2 separate regions of the Homo sapiens genome follow, and region 2 is linked to region 1. The links are contacts of gene promoters, found by promoter capture Hi-C in blood cells and fetal thymus (Javierre and others, 2016). All regions are on one chromosome and are shown on one strand. Each heading gives the region's core, a stretch centred on a gene start or on the middle of the fragment in contact. The rest is flanking DNA. Distances are from core to core; before and after follow the strand shown.

The links. The method cuts DNA at HindIII sites, captures the fragments that hold promoters and counts their contacts. A CHiCAGO score of 5 or more calls a contact.
Region 2: a fragment that was not itself captured here is called in contact with the fragment with the promoter of ASB7 in region 1 in 1 of 17 cell types (monocytes); the score reaches 5.1 in monocytes.

What each region holds. Positions count from the first base shown.
Region 1 is chr15:100,601,149-100,605,576 of GRCh38, forward strand. It overlaps ASB7 (ankyrin repeat and SOCS box containing 7), which reads left to right and starts at 1,441. Exons shown (of 6, transcript NM_198243.3): 1 at 1,441-1,898; 2 at 2,067-2,165. It overlaps LINS1 (lines homolog 1), which reads right to left and starts at 1,036. Exons shown (of 7, transcript NM_001040616.3): 1 at 973-1,036. RefSeq lists an enhancer at 954-1,293 and silencers at 1,464-1,723, 2,174-2,223. The HindIII fragment of the contact is 6,685 bases long and covers 1-4,428 here.
Region 2 is chr15:101,022,280-101,026,707 of GRCh38, forward strand. It overlaps LRRK1 (leucine rich repeat kinase 1), which reads left to right. Exons shown (of 34, transcript NM_024652.6): 15 at 104-318; 16 at 2,524-2,688; 17 at 3,686-3,858. Among named protein-coding and RNA genes, the nearest start is that of LRRK1, 110 kb to the left of the region's middle. The HindIII fragment of the contact is 4,066 bases long and covers 1-3,283 here.

The DNA of each region.
Region 1 (4,428 bases), core at 191-2,690:
CCCTGCTCAAATGTCACTTCCTCAGAGACCTTTCCTATCTGTCTTAGTCCGTTTCCTGTTGCTTATAAAATAATTCCTAAAACTCGGTAATTTATAAAGAAAAGTAATTTATTGTCTAGTTTTGGAGGCTGGGAAGTCTAAGACTGACGGACCACGAGACAGCACCGCAAAGTATCACGTGGCCAGGGGGCTGAGCAGGCTCACGAGTTGTCAAGTCTCTCCTTAAAAAGCCACCAGTTCTACCTCCGTGATAACCCATTAATCCATGAATAGATCAATCCACTCGTGAAGACAGAACCCTCACGGTCCAACCACCTCTTAAAGACTCTACCTCTCAGTACTGCCACATTGGGGATTAAATTTCAACATGAGTTTTGAAGGGGACAGATATTCACACCATAGCACTACCTATCTAATACAGCCCATCACGTCCTGGTCAAAATCGATTCCACCATTCTGCTTGATTTTCCTCATATAACCCATCCCTATCTGATAATTTTGTGTTTGTTTCCCCGAAATCACTATCTTGTTCACTGTTGTCTCCCCAGGGACTAGAACAGTGGCCAGTAAACACTTGCTAATGAATAAAGTGCTTAACAAACGTGTCTTGATCAGTCTATCTCGCGTTTTCCCCACGACCCCTCTCCATTCATTCACAGGAACCCGCCAACGTTGCTATCCTTTCAGGAAGGTCCTTGGATCGTCATCGCTATCCCAAAGAGAGTCCGTTCTCCCACTTCAGGCGAGGCATTGCCAGCCTGGAAGCTAACGGGGTCTCAAGGACCGACAGCCGCGCCAAGACCGGGCACTTGCGTCTGACAAGCGCTGAACAGGGGCGGAGAAACAAGGCACCCCTCTACTCGCTTCCTGGAGCCTGCCGCCCTCCCAACCTTAAGCCCTGAACCAGGCTCTCATTTGGCCGCACTCGTGCCTCCCCTGCTGCCAGCACGGCGGCCGGTCCCGGTTACCTGCCTGGGATCTGGCTCAGGCGAACTCTCTTCACACCGCCATTTGAGGGAACACAAATGCCCGCTCTGGGCCACCGTAGTTCACAGAAAGTACAAGCTGGCACCTCCTCCCGCATGCGCAGAGACCGCCTTCGGCGAATAGTGTCTCTTAGCAACGGCTTTGAGTCCCTCCGCCAGGGGCGGAGCCTCGGAAGCCACCACGGGGAAGCTGTAAGGGGAAGTGAGTGAGACCAATCGGAGACGAATCTCTGCCCCGTTCGGCACGCCTCCCTTAACTGTCGCGAATGCAAAGGCAACTTTACGGCAGGCAGAGGGTGGGGGCTGCCGGGGGTAAGGAGGAGAGAAGGAAGCAACCAACCAACCAAGTCGTCCCTACTCCCTCCACCCCCACCCATCCCGGACCTGGTTTACGGCTCCAGGCTCAGGCTCCACTGCGGGCGCTGATTGGTTGTTGAAGGCTTGGTCCCATCCCAGTGACCCCAAAGTGCTGAAGGGAGGGGGCGGGGGTGGCCCAGTGCAAAGTGCATCCCGAAAGCCCCCTGTCCGGAGACCCCACGGCTGGCACTTCGGGCCCCGTATGACCTGGGACCTCGCCGTCCCGAGACCTCCTGGGTCCCTCCGTAGCTGGAAGCCTCCGGCCCGGAGCGCGGCAGCCCCCTGCTCCGAGCCCTGGACCGGGACTGCCCCCCCACCCGAGCCAGGACTTCCTCCCTGCCTCCCTGCACCTCTGCCCCAAGGCTGCCCGGCGGCCGGGATCGCCACCTCCTGCCTTCTCGGCTGTTCGGATGTTCGCCGGGCTGGGGCCGTGAGGCACCGAGGAGGATCAGGAACACCAGGGTCCGGCCCTGCCTGGGGTATTTCTTCAATGGAGAAGTTGGTGAGTGTAGAGGAGGCTGAAAGGAGGAAGAGAAGCAGCAGCTGAGGAGACAGGTAAAGTCCTTTACTTCCCCCGAGGGGAAGAGTGCTGGCTGGGAGGGTAGGAGGGAGGAAAATCTCTGCTTTTTCTTGCCTGCCCTTGCCACTCTCCAGCCCCTTTCCTGAGCTCCCCCCTCCCCACCTCTGAGACACTACACCACTCACTGGTTTCTGTTTTTCTAGGTTTGAGCTGGCTGAAGAAGACGCGAAAGCAGGAAGAGGTCTGCCCACCTATCAGAGAAGCAGAAGGCACAGTGCCTCTGACCAGCATCGTCTGTAAAGGTAATGAGCCAGCCCTCCCCTCCCCCGTTGTTTATTCCTGGCCCCTACCTCATTAAGCAGTGGTTTATTTTCAGGGTGGTTGCCTGGGAATGCAACCTTTCCTACCCCCCCCACCCCCACCCCCAGTTTCCCAGGAAAAACAAAAACATTACCCGTGCCTGATACTTAACATTTTATAACTTCTCTACCCAGGACAGTATTTTCCCACTTTCTTTCTGTACAGTGTGTTTCTGTGTTTTTCATTATCTTTTGGTACACTGTGCCATTTACTCTGCTCTGAGGCTTTGAGACCTTTTTGTAGCTACCCTCCCTTCCTTACTCTCATAGGAATTCCTCAATTCCTTGTTAATTGCTTGTTAATTCTGAATGACTTTCCTTTTTAATTAAACCACAATTTACTGTTTTCCCCCTTACTCTTTCCTATCACCTTTCTTCTACCTGCATCAGAAAAATCTTTTGAGTTATCTAACTGACAACGATTTGGTAGAGAAAGGTAAATTATTGGCCTGAGATTTATGAGTTTCAGAAAATAGTTTGATTTTATTTCCTACTAGAAAGCCAACCTGTGTACCTTAAGAGTGTGAATGGTATGAAGACAACATTATTACCCTGAAGCACTTAGGCATAATTAACTCTTTGGGCTTTCTGTGTGTTTGTGTGTGACAAATGTGGATGGGCTTTGAAACTTATAAAGATACAATGTTTCTTACACCTCAGATTTTCTAGGAGAACTTTTAAAAATTTGCACAATATCTTATTAATCGTTTGACTCAGGAATTTAAAAACAAAGGAACCTTTTGGTGTGTTTACATATCTGGGTCTTAATTTTAGCACTCTATAAAAAAGATTTCTCATTTTAAAACTTTTACGTAGAGTTTGCTGGATTGAAATTTAAGCATCTAATTCATGTGATCACATTTCTGCTGCCATATTTTGTTGCTGCTTCTGAAAATGCTCTGAAAGTAAACTTAGGACATTAGTGTAATTCCTAAAGGGGGGATATAAGCATGGAAATTATACAAGGTTTAATTCCAAAATTAGCCAAATGGATGACTTTTTTAACATCCAGTAGCAAAAGTATAAAGTGACTTGTTAATCTGAGTTATTTTAATATCCCAAATTGTTTAGGGAATTTTTGTTACAAGGAAGTGCTTAAAATAGCAGAAGTTAATATTTTTGATTTCCTATGTTCCACTGGACTTTCTGCCCTCCACAAAAAGAAATTAGTATCTTTACTGATTCTGTTAATTCTTAAGACATAGCTAAAGAGATAAAGACATAGCTTTTAAGGGGATCTGAGGTATGCATATTCTTGAGACATGGAACTGCATGCCAAAAGAAGAGATTCTAGGGAATAGGATTTAGAATCAGTATCTACCAATGACTGTTCCCTGTTGAAAACTTAGGGCAGCTTTTGTATGTATATGTAGGGAATCAGGAGTACTAGACTACATCATTTCAGTAAAAGCTACCCGGAAATCTTTAAAGGCTAATTTTTATTATGTAAGTATGGAAGTTGTCAGGGAGATGGCCTAATGATTACTTCAGAACTTTTAAAAAATGCTAAAATATTTGAAGTATGTTCTAAAGATCAAAATGAAGTACTGTGTTTTGTATTCAAGCCTCTCAGTTAAATATTTTTTCAGCTTTACATGTAACTCTAGGACGCTTTCATTTCTAAAGAGTAGTTTCACCTGAGATGGTAAAGGGAAGGAGTCTGTGGCTAGTCCAGCACATAAGGTAAGAGAGGATAAGTCTTTACTCTGGCTCTCAGCCAGTTCATTCTCATTGCTTAAATCGTATTTCATGGATCATCTCATTTTTTAATAGTTTTTCTAAGATTAGGGAATATGTGTAAATTGTCAACATCTGTCATGTTTCTAATATCAGAATGACTGAGAGTATTTGGTCTAGATTATACCAGGCATTTAGAATATTTAATTTGGGTATTTATTTACCAACATGGCTAGTTAGGTAGCTTACATTTTTTAACCTGGCAGTTAGCTTTGTATTAATTCTATTGCCAATCATGTGGCTTAAAAAAAATCCAATTTATTTCGTCACCAAATATAGATTTATAATCACGTAGGGAGAATAATTGATTTTAATTGAAGATATGCAATGATGCATCTTTAGTATACTGTGGCCAGTACTTACATTCTTTACACATAAAGTGATGTCATTTACAATTAGTTAATACTATGACACATACAGTATCTCTTTAATTTGTTCACGTTTAACTTTGGTGACATAGAGATACACA
Region 2 (4,428 bases), core at 1-2,500, 420 kb after region 1:
ACTAAAACACAAAGAAGGAGTTCCTTCACAACAGGATTTTGTGTCCTAAGAGATGTGAGCATGTGCCCACGCAGCTACCCTTCCCCTTAATGATTTTGCACAGGCCCCAAAGCAATGCTGTCTTACCTGCGTGCTCAGCTGCGGAAAGCGGAAAAGTGCAAGCTGATGAAGATGATCATCGTGGGTCCCCCGCGCCAGGGCAAGTCCACCCTCCTGGAGATCTTACAGACGGGGAGGGCCCCCCAGGTGGTGCATGGAGAGGCCACCATCAGGACCACCAAGTGGGAGCTCCAGAGGCCGGCTGGCTCGAGAGCCAAGGTCAAGGATGGTCTGCGTGCAGAGTCCCTGTGGGTGGGAGGAACATCCCTTGGACTCCTTCTCCCTTCTCCCCAGAGAGCCCAGGATTTTCTCAGCCTGGTGTCCAAAGCTCAGGCCCTTTGCAGGAGCCACTGTGTACCATTCCATACCAGCTTCTGCCAAGAGCAGCGAATCATTTCTTAATGTGACTTTGTGATGTTTTCTTTTTCTTTACTTTTCTTTTTTTTTTTTCTTGAGACAGGGTTTCACTGTGTCTCTCAGGCTGGATGCATCCTCAACCTCCCCAGCTTAAATGATCCACCTGCCCTGTATGTTTCTGTTATAGTTACTTGAGGCTCTGGGACAGTGGTTCTTAACCCCGGCTGTCTGTTAGATTCCCTTGAGGGGCTTTTAAAGATAGCAATTCCCAGGCCTCACCTCACTGCTCTCTGACCCCAAGGATTCAAGTTCAAGTGGTCTGGGATAAGGCACCCCCAGGGCTGAGAGCTAACCACTGTTGCAGGCAGTGAAACACACCAGCATCTGCCCCCTGATGAGGAGGCTAAAAGCACTCTGGGACTTAACACCCTGCCGTCCCTGACACCTGCTTTCACCCCAGGTTCTGAAAAGTCCTGTTTCTAAGCCCTACTTAAAATGAATCCATCACTGCTTGAACCCGGGAGGTGGAGGTTGCAGTGAGCCGAGATCATGCCACTGCACTCCAGCCTGGCGACAGAGCAAGACTCCATTCAAAAAAAATTTTTTGAGTCCATCCATAAACTTCTTAATCATCTTGCTTTCCATTCAGTGCCAGGCAAATGGAAATGAACATTTTCCTGTTCATGTAACAGAGAAAAGAGCCATGGACTGTTGGTGGGAACTCCATCCCTGGAATAGAGCAGGGGCAGTTAGCCCTTTCTCTGAGCTCGGGGAACGAACACACATAGATAAGGCCATCCTCATCAACTGTATTTGGATTTCTGCCACCCTGTGATTCCTCGGGATCCAAGGGGCAAGAGGCTGCTTCACTGTGGAAAACTGAGGAGGCTTGAGATCCAGATGGTCCATGATTTTCCCCCAAAGCTCCCACGCACAGTGCCAACCAAACACTGCAGCTTCTTCCACACACAACCACTTTCCAAACCTGCTTTGAAAAAGTAGGCATTGAAGCTGTGCATCTGTTCTAACACGAACTTGGAAGCTGGTCCTCCAAGGGGTGAAGCGCTGCCTGTTGGGGCCAGAACAATCAAACACGACAATCAACGCTAGGCCAATCCTAGAACATTCCAGGAGCAAATCTAGCTGACTCGAGTCTGAAGGTTCTCTCCAGGAACCAGAATCCTCTGCATTCTCTCCAGCTTTGCCTTTTTCTTAACAGTTATGCAATCTCATTTCTTCTCTTAGCTTCCTCTAGCTGAGGCCTGAGGGGTGAATTCGTGCTTCTATTTTTCCTGACCTTCACCCCCACTTCCTTTCTGCGATGATTAAAACCCCCTACCCTTTAGTGGAAGGACAATCCTGTGAAGGCTGAGCCCGCCGCTCTCTCTGTGGCCGGCCTCAGCCAGTTGAGAACAGCTGTTTTCATCTTTATACAAAACCAGGTCAGCACACTGTGTCTTGGAGGCTGATGCTGCCTCACAGAGATGACTCCTTTCTGTAGAAAACTGCAGCCTTAGCATCCAGGGCCAGACTCTTACCTCATGCAATGATAGAGAAACCACCGTTTACACAGCCGTTCCCGGCAGCCCAACAGCTCATCTTTTGTTTGATTCCCACAGGGTGGGAGGGAGTTTCCCAGCATCCTTGGTGGGCGCCACCCTCTGAGCCCCACAAGTTCAGAGGCCCATCTCCTCCTCTTGCCCTGGCACACAGGGAGGCTGAACCCCAGTGCAAGCCGTGACATCAGAGCACAGCTTCCTCCCACAGGGCATCCCCTACCCATCTGCAGCCCAGACAGAGCCAGGCCCTCTGAAGTCTGTCCAGGGCCTGGTCTCTGCTCTGCTAGGAGTAGACAGAAGTCCCAGAAGCCCACCCCCATGCCACCGGGCCCCTGTCCCTCGCCCAGATAACTGTTTCCTAAGAAACAATAGAGTGTCCAGAACTTTTCCACGGTTGTTTTTTCAGACCCCCGAGTCCAGCCTCCAGAGTTATCCGTTGTCTCCGTTTGATTGACTGAAGCCTTTGTCTCTAAAATGCCTCCCTGTCGCTGCCTTGTTGCTCAAGTAGGTTGAGTCCGTGGAGTTCAACGTCTGGGACATCGGGGGACCGGCCAGCATGGCCACTGTCAACCAGTGCTTCTTCACGGACAAGGCCCTGTACGTGGTGGTCTGGAACCTGGCGCTGGGGGAGGAGGCCGTGGCCAACCTCCAGTTCTGGCTGCTCAACATCGAGGTGAGGACACCAGACGCCAGCCCTGCCATTTCAGTGCCCAGAGCTTTGCAGGTCCCACCGCTTCCCTCAAGCATCCCCTGTACTGAGAAAAAAAGGGGGTTATGTTGCCACAGAGGGCCCCAGAACCGTGGTCCTGCTTGCTTTTCACAGTGAGGCACTTGAAACCTTCCTCTGCTGAGGGCTGGTGATGTAATTTCCCCGCTTCCCTTAAATTTAGGAACCCCCACCCTTGGATCCAAAAGCAGAGCAGGGTTCCCTTCCTGTTATAAAGATGTCCTTGTCTCCCTGCCTCTGATGGCTGCTGTCATGTCTGAAGGGTCAGAAATCCCTCCCCACAAGTCCAACTCAGCACCCTCCGTGGAGGAGGTCACAGAACACCATAGACACCCCTCAATGCAACAGTCCCTCAGGTTCACGGAGAATGAGGAGCACAGGTGCTGCCTGGGCTGACATCCTGTAGCGCAGTCTGTTTTGCATTACTAGAAAGGAATGAGACTGGGTAATTTATGAAGAAAAGAGGTTCATTTGGCTCACAATTCCGCAGACTATACAAGCATGGCTTCAGCATCTGTTGGCTTTTGGTTAGGCCTCAGGAAGCTTTTAGTCATGGCAGAAGGGAAGGGGAGCCAGCATGTCACATAGTGAGAGAGGGAGCAGGAGAGACAGGAAGAGGAGCCAGCCTCCTTTCCACAATCAGCTCCTCTGTGAACTGACATAGGGTGAACGCACCCATTACTGCAGGAAGGTGCCAAGCCATTCATGAGGGATCTGGCCCCATGACCCAACCTCCCGTCAGGCCTCACCTCCAACACTGGGGATCACATTTCAACATAAGATTTGGAGGAGGCAAACATCCAAACCGTCTCAAGGCTGCAGATTGGTGGCTGAGCAAGGGCCGTGGCATCCAGGGTCAGCGCACCTGCACAGCTGGGAGCTCTGTCCTGTCCCTTGTTCCATGAACAGAGACAGTACTCAGCCGTGGGGTTCTCTGTTGCAGGCCAAGGCCCCAAACGCCGTGGTGCTGGTGGTCGGGACGCACCTGGATTTAATTGAAGCCAAGTTCCGTGTGGAAAGGATTGCAACGCTGCGTGCCTATGTGCTGGCACTCTGCCGCTCCCCCTCCGGCTCCAGGGCCACAGGCTTCCCAGACATCACCTTCAAACACTTACAGTGAGTGCCCAGCCTCGGGCAGCTCCTGCCTTCTTGTGGGTGCCAGTCGCTGATCTTTCCTGGGATCAGCTTGCAGAGAGCTCCTGAGTCTGGGTGGGGCTAGGCCCCTTTCCTGGCCAAGGGTGGCCATCCACAGAGCTGACCCAGCCTTGGGGAGGGTGAAGACCTACCAGACGGCTGGCTGGTTGAGGCCTGGAGGTGCCCCTCTTTGCTTCCTTTCTGCCCCATCCCCGCCCCAAGGGCCAGTGCTGAAAATGCATGGTGCCTATTGAACCAGGAGACTGAACGTGGGCACCACCCAACCAATTGCTGCCCATCTCATTTGTTGATCACTGATCAAGGACAGACCCTGGGGAGGGAGGGCCAGTCCTTCCATTGGGTCTGAGTGGTCCTGATAGCAGCCTTTGAGTCACAGAGGGCCAAGAGTTTGGAGGGGCTTTCAGTTAGGCATCACGACGTGTCCATACAGATAAGTCCAATTGCCCTGGGCTGACTGCCTGTCACTGGACTTTCACAACAGCCCTGCAGGTTGTGGGGATTGTTTGCCACTTTGTAGGTGAAGAAGATGAG